3 separate regions of the Homo sapiens genome follow, and all the other regions are linked to region 2. The links are contacts of gene promoters, found by promoter capture Hi-C in blood cells and fetal thymus (Javierre and others, 2016). All regions are on one chromosome and are shown on one strand. The core of a region is centred on a gene start or on the middle of the fragment in contact, and the rest is flanking DNA. Distances in the headings are between cores, read along the strand shown.

Evidence for each region. The method cuts DNA at HindIII sites, captures the fragments that hold promoters and counts their contacts. A CHiCAGO score of 5 or more calls a contact.
Region 1: a contact is called between a fragment that was not itself captured here and the fragment with the promoter of OSBP in region 2, in 1 of 17 cell types (naive CD8 T cells). The highest score is 5.3, in naive CD8 T cells.
Region 3: a contact is called between a fragment that was not itself captured here and the fragment with the promoter of OSBP in region 2, in 1 of 17 cell types (neutrophils). The highest score is 5.8, in neutrophils.

Annotation. Positions count from the first base shown.
Region 1 is chr11:58,597,707-58,602,139 of GRCh38, forward strand. The region is part of intron 2 of ZFP91 (ZFP91 zinc finger protein, atypical E3 ubiquitin ligase); the gene reads left to right. The region is part of intron 2 of ZFP91-CNTF (ZFP91-CNTF readthrough (NMD candidate)); the gene reads left to right. Among named protein-coding and RNA genes, the nearest start is that of ZFP91-CNTF, 21 kb to the left of the region's middle. The HindIII fragment of the contact is 1,645 bases long and covers 736-2,380 here.
Region 2 is chr11:59,612,988-59,617,168 of GRCh38, forward strand. It overlaps OSBP (oxysterol binding protein), which reads right to left and starts at 2,787. Exons shown (of 14, transcript NM_002556.3): 1 at 2,316-2,787. The coding sequence starts at 2,677. LOC101927226 (a long non-coding RNA gene) reads left to right here and starts at 2,967. Exons shown (of 3, transcript XR_001748237.2): 1 at 2,967-3,188. RefSeq lists silencers at 2,420-2,639, 2,660-2,959 and an enhancer at 3,160-3,249. The HindIII fragment of the contact is 16,614 bases long and covers 1-4,181 here.
Region 3 is chr11:58,564,208-58,568,339 of GRCh38, forward strand. The region is part of intron 2 of LPXN (leupaxin); the gene reads right to left. Among named protein-coding and RNA genes, the nearest start is that of LPXN, 9.6 kb to the right of the region's middle. The HindIII fragment of the contact is 2,012 bases long and covers 520-2,531 here.

The DNA.
Region 1 (4,433 bases), core at 308-2,807, 1.0 Mb before region 2:
CACCTGCTACTGTAGGTGCAGCAGTGGCTTCACAAATTTCCTTTTCTTCAATACTTTTTATGTTGGATTCATTTATCTTAAAATGGTGAGCAACTGCAGCTACACACCTCAACCTTCTATGCTTATTAAGCAATTCAACTTTTTCTTGTAATACCGTGACTTTTCTCTGCTTCTTGGAAGCACTTCCAGTATCACTAGTGGCAACTCTTATGGGTCCCGTAGTGTTAGTCAAGGTTTCAGGTATTGCTCTAAACATAGTGAAAAATGAGTTAACTGAGAGATACCACTTCTACTGTGACAGTAAATTCACTCAGGTGGTGATGATTATCCTCATGACATTTTAAGCAGATACTTGAAACAGCTGAGCTTGCTGCAATAGCAACAGGAGATAGCTATGAAATTATTATGTACGGAGTTAATTTTATGCAGTTATTCATTAGTACATCTTTACGTTTCTTTACATTTCTCTGGACTTTGGATGATACCATATATAGTCTAAGACTTTGTGTGTGTAAGTTTTGTTGAATTTTAACTTTTTATATTTGTGTATATTTTACAGTAATGTCATCAAATAGAGTGGTATCTATAGTTTATGCATTCATGACATAACTTAATTTTTCAATATTTCTAGGCTACACAGTTTGTCTGCAAGTTTTTTCAAATTGTCACAAATCTCCAAAAAATTTTCTTACATATTTTAAAAAACTGGCGTATGAATGGATCCATGCAGTTCAAAGCTTTGTTGTTCAAGGGTTAACTAACTGTAGTTATATTCACTGTGCCTGCATGTTGCTCATGCAGTGACTAGTATGATGTCTTCCTTTACCCAAGCTAGTATGGCTTTTTTCTCTTATTATTTATGTATCAAGGAACCTCCTCAAGGTTAGCTGCTATTATAAGAAACAACTGGAAATTGTCTTTGAAGTACCACACAGAAGAAACTTGGCTTGTTTCCTATCTGTTTATGATTGTTTATGCTAATGTATGGATTGTCCTTCAGTTGTCAATTTCTATTCCAGAAACCTGGCAATACTTTTGTGCACGTGTGTGTGTGTGTGTGTGTGTGTGTGTGTGTGTGTGTTTTGAGGTGAAATTCACATAACAAAAAAATAGTAAAAAATACTTGAAAGCATACAATTCAGTGACATTTGGTACATTTACAGTGTTGTACAACCATCACTTCTATCTAGTTCCAAACATTTTCATCACCACCAACAAAGGAGACCCCTGTACCCATTAAAAGCAGTTATTCCCCCTTCCCTCCTGTTCAGCTGCAACAAACATTAATCTGCTTTGTCTCTATGGATTTACCTATTCTGGATATTATATGTAATTGGAATCATACAATATGTGCAATATGTGACTTTTGTTTCTAGCATCTATCATATAGCATATTTTTAAGGTTCACATTGTAACATGTTAAGATTGCATTCCTTTTTATGGCTGGATAAAAATTTTCGTTGTATGTATATATGACATTTTGTTTATCCATTCACTGGTTAATGGATATTTGGGTTGTTTCCACAATTTGGGTATTGAGAATTGTGCTTCTATGAATATTCATATGTAATAAGTATTTCTTTGAATAGCTGTTTTCAATTTTTGGTGTATGTACCTAGAAGTGGAATTGCTGGATCATATGGTAATTCTGTGTCTAAGTTTTTCTTAACATTTTTCTTAACACTGTTTTCTTAGGTTTTCCATAACACTGTTTTCCTCATTAGCTGCCTCATTTTACATGTCCACCAGCAATAAACAATGGTTCCAATTTCTCTGCATTCTCACCAACACTTCTTATTTTCTTTTTTTATTATTTTTAGTTAGCCATTGTAGTATGTGGGAAATGGTAATCTCATGTGATTTTGATTTGCATTTCGTTAATGACTGATGTTCCGTATCTTTTCAAGTACTTTTTTGGCCTTTTGTATATCTCTGGAGAAATAATCTGTTTAGGTTCTTTGCCCATGTTTTAATTGGGTTGTTTCTCTTTTTGTTGTTAAATCCAAAGACTTTATATATTTTGGATATTAGACTTTTACCAGATATATGACTTGCAAATATATTCTCCCATTCTGTAGGGTTATCTTCACTTCTATGCATTTTTTAGTGCTAGCTCCTGTGTTTAGGTCTTTGATCCATTTTGAGTTAATTTTTATATATGGTATAAGGTAGGAATACAACGTCATTTTTTGCATGTGGATATCCATTTGTCTTAGCACCATTTCTTGAAGAGACTGTTTTCACCTACTGAATGGTCTTAGCCACCTTCTTAAAAATCAGTTGACCACAGATGTATAGATTTATATCTGGACCTTTAATTCAGTTAGTTGATTCAATTATTATTAGTTTTATGCCGGTAATACATTGTATTGATTACTGAAGCTTTATAGTAAGTGTTGAAATTGAGAAGAAAAAAGTGCGTCTTTAATTCTGTTTGTTTTCAAGATGGCTGTGACTAGTGTAGATCCCTTGCATTTTCCTGTGAACTTTAGGATTGGGTTGTCAATTTCTACCAAAAAGGAAGCTGGGGTTTTGATAAGAATTACAGTTAATCTGTGGGTTTATTTTCAGAGTATTGTCATCTTAACAATTTTTCAATATTTTATTCCTTTTTATTCTATTGTAAAGGTAATCATTTTCTTAATTTCCTTTTTGTTCATTGCTAATATACTTAAAACAATGAATGTTATATGTTGGTCATATATTCTGGCACTTTGAATAAAGGTAATAATTATTTTCTTAATTTCCTTTTTGTTCATTGCTAATATGCTTAAAACAATGAATGTTACGTGTTGGTATTATATTCTGGCCCTTCGAATTTGTATATGACCTTTAACAGTTTTCTTTTGTGAAAATTCTTTAGAATTTTCTATATGTAAGGTCTTTTCACCTGCAAATAGAGATACAGTTTTACTTCTTCCTTTTCACTTTGGGTGCCTCTTTTTTTACTTGAGTAATTACTTGGCTAGAACTTCCAGTACAGTGTTGAATGGAAGTGAAGAATGAGGGCATCCTTGTCTTGTTCCTGACCTTAGCAGGAGAGCTTTGTCTTTTACCACTGCGTATGATGTGAGCTCTGGGGTTTTTAAAGGTGTTCTTTGTCAAGTTGAGGAAGTTCAATTCTATTCCCAGTTTTTTGTGTGTTCTTATCATGAAAGTTTAATTTTGTCAGGTTCTTTTTCTTTTTTCTACATCAATTGAGATAATGGTGTGTTTTTTCCTCTCTTTATTAATGTGGGATATTACATATGTTTTTGTATATCGAACCACCCTCATAATCCTGGGACCTGTCTCAATTGATTATAGTGTTTAATCTTCTTAATATGATGCTATATTTGGTTTGCAAGGGATATTGGCTTATGGTTTTTTGTGGTGTCTTTGTCTGGCTTTGGTGTCAGAATAATGCTGTGTTTATAGGATGTGTTGGGAAGTGTTCCATCTTCTATTTTTTAAGAGAGTTTGAGGAAGACTGGAGTTAATTCTTTAAATGTGTGGTAGAATCAACCAATGAAACCATCTAGAGGCTTCTGGCCTTTTTATTGGGAGCTTTTTGTTTACTGACTCAGTTGTCTACTTGTTAAAGATATGTTCATCTTTTCCATTTCTTGTTGAATTGTTTTTGGTAATTTGTGTGTGCCTAAGAAGTTGTTGATTTCATCTATGTTATTTGTTGGCAAACAGTTGTTCATTGTGTTTTCTTATGTTTATTTCAGTGGTAGTGTCCCATTTTCATTTCTGGTTTTAGTAATTTGGGTCTTCTCTTATTAACCAAAAGTTTGTTGATTTTGTTATCTTGTCAAAGAACCAACTTATTTACTTTATTCTGCTAGCTTTGGGTTTACTCTGCTCCTTTTTTCCTAGCTCTTATGGGTATGATGTTAGGTTATTGATTCAGGCATGTGATTTTTTTTTTTTTCTATTTTAATGTAGGCATTTATATCTAGAAATTTTACTCTGAGAACTGCTTTCACTGCATCCCCTAGGTTTTGGGATATTTTGTTTTCATTTTCAGTCATCTCTAAGTATTTTGTAATTTTCCTTGTGATTTATTCTTTGATCCATTGGTTTAACAGTGTGTTAATTTTCATGTATTTGTGAGTTTTCTAGTTTTCCTTCTGATATTGATTTCTAGTTTCATTCAATTGTGGTCAGAGAGAACGTACTTTATATGACTGCAGCCATTTGAAATTTATTGAGACTTTTCAATATGTCTGTGAATTTTTTTTTTCCCCCAAGATGGAGTCTCGTTCTATCGCCCAGGCTGGAGTGCAGTGGTGTGATCTTGGCTCAATGCAACCTCCACCTCCTGGGTTCAAGCAGTTCTCCTGCCTCAGCGTCCTCGAGTAGCTGGGACTACAGACACACGCCACCATGCCCGGCTAATTTTTGTATTCTTAGTAGAGACAGGGTTTCGCCATGTTGGCCAGGCTGAT
Region 2 (4,181 bases), core at 1,537-4,036:
TAAAAGGAAAACAGTATTTTGGAAACAGCATATATAAGAAACTGCAGGTTTTGGAGGTATGAAAAGCAGGAGGAATGACAACTTGTCTAAATAATTCTTGGAGGAAGATGAGGACCAGAAGAATCCTGCAGGAAAAAATAAACTGCCAGTATACTTGATAGGAGGTATTTCAGTGCAATTTTGAGGGTAGTGCACAGATTGATAACTCTGGATCCCGCTGGTTTGTTTATGGGTGGGACCACCTAAGTTGACTAGGGCAGGCCTATGGCATATTTCCCAATATGTGGTTTGGTATGTTTTGGAAGGAGTTTTATATGTAGTCAGACAGGTACCACTAGCTCTTGTAAGGGAGAAGTTAAAAGTGGTAACAAATACTTAAAGAGACAGCAACATGTAAGTTATTAGTGTCTAAGATCACTATTGATCAACACTAGTACTGATCAAAGAATCAACTGGCCTGGAAAGTGGATCCGGTAAGAACTTGGATGAGAAATGACCACATACGAAGGCCCTGAGGTGATATACAATTTTTGAAAATGCAAAAACAGTATTAATATTGACTTGCGACACAAGTCAGGATATAAATCAATTAAACATTAAAATGATGGTCAATAATAACAGGAAAACATGAACTTGAATGAGAGAAAAATCTGGGGAAATTAAAATTTTAGATTTGTAATCTAAGTTTAAATGGATGGTCCTGGATAAGTAGTTCGAAAGGGTCATAATTAAAATCAATTCTGAATACAGTAATGCAAATGAAATATACAATTATTCACAACTGTTGATTAAGCAGTGAGGATGAGCTATCTAAGGCATTTTGCCCTGTAAGAGGACAGGTAAAAATGTGTTCCTGCCAACAACCTCCAACTCCCACCTTCAATTTCTCCTCAAAATTCTCTAAGAGCCAATACAGTGGAGTTGATGGAAAAGAGACTTGTTCAGCCTAACTCTCTGGGTAGCAGAATGATTCCTGGTGAAGGAAAAGAAATATAGAGTGAGCTGCTCTTCAACATCAGTGTTTTGGGTCTCAAAGAGGATGGTCTCTGGAAAAAAATATTTCAATTGGAATGTCATTAAGCAAAATATCCCTTAAAGGAGACTTTTATACTTTTTGCATAAAATACACATAGTAAGCATGATCCATAAAATTACTTGCTATTGATAAGCAATTATCTCTGTAACTGACCGATTCATTTCACACTAACCTGAGTTTTAGGTTAGATTAGTGTGAACAGAAGTAGTTTCAAATCCCAGCTGCTCAAAAACCTTGGGAAAGTTGCCCATGCTAAGTCTGTTTTCCTCATCAGTAAGATGGGAATATTTCCCAACTCCTAGGGTTGTTGTTGGGAGTCAACAAAATACTATAATGAAATACTGTATATAAAACACCTAGACACATTGTCCAGCCCTCAGGAAATGTTTACGCCCTGTCCCCAAATCACCTATCTTAACTCCTCTATCCTTTTTAGCCCAAAAGCGTGCCATGTGATGGCCAGGTTATGAGTCACCATAAATATATATTAAACAGTCCAAAATAAACCTTGTTGAACAGAAGTAATCACACCAAAGACATGGATTCTTCTTTTAATAAAAGTTAATCCTAACTAACCAAAAAATCACAGAAATGCCAGATAAAACACTTAATCATTTCCACGGGAGGAGGTGGGGCAAGCAAAAATAAAAGCAGCACTGGGGTGCACATCTCCATTCTGGGCTGTCCAGAGGCCAAAGCACATGCAAAGTCTTGGAGAGATAAGGCAGAAAGGGGACGGAATACCGAAGCCACCCTGTGTGTGTGATGCCCTTATGTCTGAATGTGAAGGGAGCAAGGACGGGTACATCCAGAGCTACGAATAACCTTGAGTTTTGGAGACTGGGCACTGACAGCTACAACTTGGGACTTCCACTGTAAGTTCCTTGGGAGGAGTGCCTCGGGTTTGTTCTGCTGCATGTGTTCCCTTAGTACCTACACCAGTGCCTTGCTTGCAGAATTAATAATTGCACCCATGTGCTGGTGGAAATACAATGGAAGCACAGACGCTCTCCAAACGACTAATGACTGGAAAGGCCGGGAGCGAAGGGAAGATAAGGCACCAAGAGTGGGTAACCCGAGGGGAGGGGAGGTGTACGTCCAGGGGCTTTTCACTTTCGTGACAGTGGGCTCCGACCCCTGGGCTGTCAATCCGCACAGATGACGAAAAGGGGCCTGGGGCAACCCTGGCTGCGGTGCCGGCTGGCGGTAATGCCGGAGCTGGGACTGTTGGCAGATATGGGGGAGGCAAGGTGAGCGACAGCGCCCCGGAAGCAGTTACCTGTAGTAGCTCAGGAGCCCGTTGCTCAGCACGAACCATCGCCGCTGGTAGCCTTTGATATAATTGGTCCATTTGAAGAGCCAGCCCTCTCGAGCCGAGCCCGAACCCCCAGCGCCCGAGCCGCCCGAGCCCCCAGTCGGCGGCGCAGGGGCCGGGCCAGCCGCCGCCACTCCCCCGGCCCCCGGGCCCGGGCCTCCCGCCGCCGCCGCGACCACCGTCCCTGACGCGGCCCCGGAGCCTGGCCCCGCATCTCCGCGGCCGCCGCCTCCTCCCACCACTGGGGGACCGGCGCCGCCGCCGCCAAGTGCTGCAATGGCTGCCGGGCCTGGCCCCACCACTCCTCTCAGCTCCGTCGCCGCCATGAGCCGCCGCCGCCTGGAGATACAAGACCGGAACCGCCTACGAGAGCCGCCGTCGCCGCCCGGAGCGCCCCACACGGCTACCGCATCAGCCACCGCCGCGCAGCGTCCCCGCCCCGCCCGGCCAGCCGCGGGGAGGAGGGCTCGGCCGCCGGGAAGAAGGACGTCGATTGGTGCCGCTGAGTGTCACTTGAGGAAGACCCCGCGGATATTGGCATTTCTCTCGGGCCTGTCATTCTACAGCGCCCAGTGAGAGCCTGGGGTGGGACGCGTCCGCCAGACCCACCTTTGATTGGTTCAGATAAAGGCCAATCAGACTTTTGGGGAAGCTCATTGGTGCTTTCCTGAAGTTTCCAGCGCTCAGGGAGGACGGGAGAATGCGGAATGCCCGGCCAATCTGATCGCCGATTGGCTGCTGTTTCCGCCATTCATTTCAGTTTATGCGCCTGTCACTGCCACGTCACCCCCTCCCATCGCTCTTCTCATCATCCTTTTCCGCCCTCATGGATTGGTGGTTGGTATCAGCTGCTCCACCTTTTCTACCATTTACTGAACGAGTTGAGGAAAAAGGGAAGGAGTCTCGTCTTTACATCCTTATTTTCTTTTTTTATTGGTTGGCACCTATGCCACTCACGTGGTGGAGAGGCGGGGCAATAGTTGGAGATGATTGGTTCTGAGAATTGGCTGTGAAAGCGGCATTGCTGACCAGTGAGAGAGACCTAATGAGGAGCAGGCCGGGGCAACCAATGAAATCGGAGAAGAGCGCTTGGGGGCGTGTCCGCCTGCTTTCAGCCTTTGGCAAGTTGGTGGGAGGTGAAAGTGACTTGGCCTCTTAAAAGCGTTTTTTTCACGTGGGTGTGATGTCGTGTTCCGTTTTTCTGAATAAGAACTTCGTAGCTTCTTGTTAGGAAGAACCTGGAGGACAGAGTAACTCTCGGCAGTCAGCCCCCGCCTGAGGCTCTCTTGAAGGACCCCCTTCTAACTCGAAGCTGGATACCCAGATTCCAGGGGTGCCCAGAAGTAGCTTTTCCAGCCCCTTCCTGGATCCATGGTCCCCCTAGTTCCCTTCCCTGTTTGCTCTTTATCGCTCCACACCCCTTGTGTCTTGATTCTAGACTGTCATATGCCTATACCGATTCTGTCCCCTTCAGAAGTAGATTCGCGAGGACCTGACTTTATGTGTCTCTTCCAGACCTAAAGGCCCTTGGTTTTAGCATCATAGGTGCCATGTATATGCTTAACTTTGAACAGAAAATTATTATTTTTTGTATCTTTAAACTGATATATCGTAGTTGTACATATTTAACTTTGGACAGAAAATTTTTTTTATATCTTTAAACTGATATAGTTGTACATATTTTCAGGGATACATCTGATATTGTGATACATGTATTCAATGTATAATTATCAAATCAGTGTAATTGGGATATCCATCATCTCAAACATTATCTTTGTGTTGGGAACATTTTCTGCTATGCGTTCTCTTGTAGCAGGAAATCGTTATTTT
Region 3 (4,132 bases), core at 276-2,775, 1.1 Mb before region 2:
TATATAAGTGACAAGAGAAGAGCAAAGAATAAATTTTTGTTATCAGAATGTTGAGGCTTAATGATACCCACAGTTAATAGATGTTTGTAGCTTTTAAAGGGGACTGACAAGTGGCATATCTATGAGCTCTTCTTTCACAAGCCAGAGGAATTACCAGCCATCCCACAAAGAAAAGCCAAATTCTAAACAGAGTAGTTGGCATGTGAACAAACACTAGCAGCCCCTCCTTGCCTAAAAACCACCCAAATAGAGAAGTTGATCCTCCTTAGATAAGAACCATAAATCAAATAAAATGGGTCAGAGCTAAGCCCCTTTAACTAAACAGGATGGTGCCTAGGAGGAGACTATAATGTTATTAAACTTGACATATGAAAAGAAATAACATGTGAATCTAAAAGATGGTTGGCTGGCAATTCATTTATTAATTGAACAAATATGTATTGAGGGCCTGTCATGTGCCAGGGCTGAGGATGTAGCAGTCAAAAAGCAAAAAAATCAAATAAAAACTGTAAGCCCTGAAGCTTACATTCTGGTGCTGTGAAACAAATAATAAAGAAATTGGTATGTAAAAGTAATATTCTGCATAGAGGATGGGAAGTGGGGAGAGACAGCAATTATAAATATACTGATCAGGGAAGGACTCACTGAGAAGAGAACGCTTGAGCAAGGACTTATATAGGAGGTGGGGAAAGAAAGCAAATATCTGGGGTCATATGATTCAGGTGGAAAGGCCAGCAGGAAAACCACCTGGAGCATCTGTGGAACCACGAGAAGGAGAGTGTGGCCTGAGCAGAGTGAACCAAGGACACAGGGACAGCAAGTAAAGGGGCCAGATCATACAGATGAGGTGGCCACATCACCAAACGTTCAGAATGGGGTATTTTTTAGAAAGAAAATGGGTTCCAAAAATAAGTCATATTGTATCATTTTTAAAATATGTGTTTATTGGCCAGGCATGGTGGCTCATGCCCGTAATCCCAGTACTTTGGGCAGCCGAGGCAGACGGGTCACGAGCTTGTATCATTTTTAAAATATGTGTTTATTGGACGGGCGTGGTGGCTCACGCCCGTAATCCCAGTACTTTGGGTGGCTGAGGCAGGCGGATCACGAGGTCAGGAGATCGAGATCATCACGGCTAACATGGTGAAACCCCATCTCTACTAAAACTATAAAAATTTAGCTGGGAGTGGTGTTGCGTGCCTGTAATCCCAGCTACTCAGGAGGCTGAGGCTTGGAGAATTGCTTGAACCCGGGAGGCAGAGATTGCAGTGAGCTGAGATCATGCCACTGCACTCCAGCCTGGGTGACAGAGCGAGACTCGGTCTCAAAAAAAAAAAAAATGTGTTTATTGACCTGAATTTGGTCTTATTATATTGGTGGACCTATAAGATAATTCTATCCAAAATTTATTTTCAAAATAAAAATTTCCTGAAATATCTTAAAGTGATAGTGATACAAAGTTATGAACATTCAAGCAACTTTAAAAAAATATTGGCCAGGCACAGTGGCTAACGCCTATCATCCCAGCACTTTGGGAGGCTGAGGCACGTGCATCATTTGAGGTCAGGAGAATTTGAGACCAGCCTGGTGTCATGTGACCAGACATGGTGAAACCCTGTCTCTACTAAAAATACAAAAAAATTTGCCAGGTATGGTGGTGGGTGCCTGTAGTCCCAGCTACTCGGGAGGCTGAGACAGGAGAATTGCTTGAACCCAGGAGGCGGAGGTTGCAGCGAGCCAAGATCATGCCACTGAACTCCAGCCTGGGCAACAGAGTGACACTCTGTCTCAACAACAACAAAAAATTGATTATCTGAACATTTTTAATGGTACAGACAATTATTCTTTATATGTATTCACATACCTTAATTGGTTATTTAGATATTATTGTCTCTAGCATTGGGATGTGGACATTTTTCAGGAACATGTGTTTTTTTTCGTTTTTTATTTAAACAGTTATTTTTTTATAAAACTGCAATCTTTTTCAAAACTTCATTTTATGGTTAATATATTTGAAATTATGGACAACTTTAATTGATGCTTCACTATATGTTTTTAACTGAGAACACATTTCCTCTCTAGATACTGATGAACCTGTAAGTTCTGCTAAATGAAGAATCTTCTCATTTTTTAGATTAAAATATGTAAATATTTCAGGCCAATATCGTCATAGGTGCTGTCTTTCTACCTTCATTCAAAGCACTTTTGCTCAATAATTTCTTACAAGATAAAACTTTCAAGTTGTCTATATCTGTGATTGTTTCAACATTTCACCAAATCTAGATACTGCAAAATCATAGACTTTCACAATTTTTCTCCATTTTGGTAGAGAATAAAAATTTATCCAAATAAAATTAGAAGTCAAAATACATCAAAGTCAAGATTTTTCTGAAGCACAATTGTCAAAATAGATAATTAAACCATATCTGCTTTCATCTTTTGATTTGTTCAACTCCTTCTTCGCTTTTGTAGGGAGAAATTTGAGCTTCTTCCTTTGCAAGCCTTATTTTACATAATTGTAACTTGCTAAAAGCTTCAAAAGCTGAATTTTCATGCTACATTCATTCAGTAATCGATTAAAAATTTCCAACTGGTCTTGAACATAATGCAATCTAAATTTGGGTTGCTTTACAAAGTGGTTTTTCAAAGGCTCAGGCATTCCCAAAATCCAATTGATGACATGCAACACAGACAGGAATATACATATAGTCATTCTGAAATGTTTCCTTGCATGGTAGTGTTCAATATCAGCTTCTGTCAGAAAAGTTTTGTAGATCAGTTACTTATAAAATCTGTGTGTGTGTGTGTGTGTGTGTATATATATATTTATAATTTATACATTTTGACAATTTTAGTTTCTGTTTTGACTGACAGAATACCGCAGCTTGTTTGAATGCAGTCACAAATTTTGTGCACATTACAACCAATTCCAAGTACATTTCTGCTTCATAGCTTGTTAACTTGGTAAGAACATTTTTAACACAATGCTGTGCTCTATTAACATTTGTATTCATATTCTTACAACAAAAACAACAGTTTACCTTCAATGTTGAGCTTTTCAACTAAATTTACAGTGGCATTAACAATGTCAGATGTTTCACTTTTTGACTAGGAAATAAATTTTCACATATTTTATTTTGATTGTTTGAATTAGATAAAAAACAAAATTGAAACATTTCAGAATTAATACATTTTTGAATTGAGACCTCTAAGGAAATTATTATAAAAAACATTATTTGAAGGTTTGCAAAGGAAAATCACTCATTAATTATTACCAGTTTACTTACAAGTACAAGAAAACTTGGAATTGAAAATGAGCAAAATTAATTTATGAGTTATTTGATACTAATGGGAAGGTGTGCTTCACAATGACATGTACATAGGCCTCCTGCAGCTGCCGTGTTGAAGTCATTTTAAGGCATATTCTTCTTAAATTATTAACTTTGGAAATAGATGCCAAAGCTGCTTCACCATATTTGTACCTTCTGGTTTTCAAAGGGATAGTGATCTTTCTACTTGCCTGCATGGTACATGGTAAATATTGAAAAATATTTTCTGCACGTTGCATATTCATTATCAGCTTTCTTGAGACAATTAAACATGTGGGTTTTGTTTTGAGCTAACTGCTGAAAGGGTTTATTGTAAAATTCAAAAGGCATTACCATATAATAAAACAAATAGAGCTTCACATATACAAATAATAACAAAACTGCTTTAATAAAACAATTAGGTTACACTATACTCTATGGCAAAATTACTTAGCCTCTATTTCCTAAACATAATTTGTATGACATTAAGCCACAATTTCTCCCATTTTCTACTGACTCTGAGGAGGTTCCACGCATCTCACAGGCCACCCACCACACGACCACATGAGGGCATGAGTGGTGGTTCACAAAGTGGCCAGCAGGGGGAAAAGCCTCAGAAATTCTTCTGCTACCACCTAAGATCAGAAGAGGTACTTGTGCTTGAGCTCTTAGCTTTAACAGGCAGCACCCTGCATATAATTCTTGAAAGGTTGCTGCTAGCTAGGTTTCATCTGAACAGAATCAAGAAAAAAGACAAGTTATCATTAGCCATCTTTTGCATTTAACCATAATTAAGTCAGAATTTGGCTGGGGACAGTGGCTCG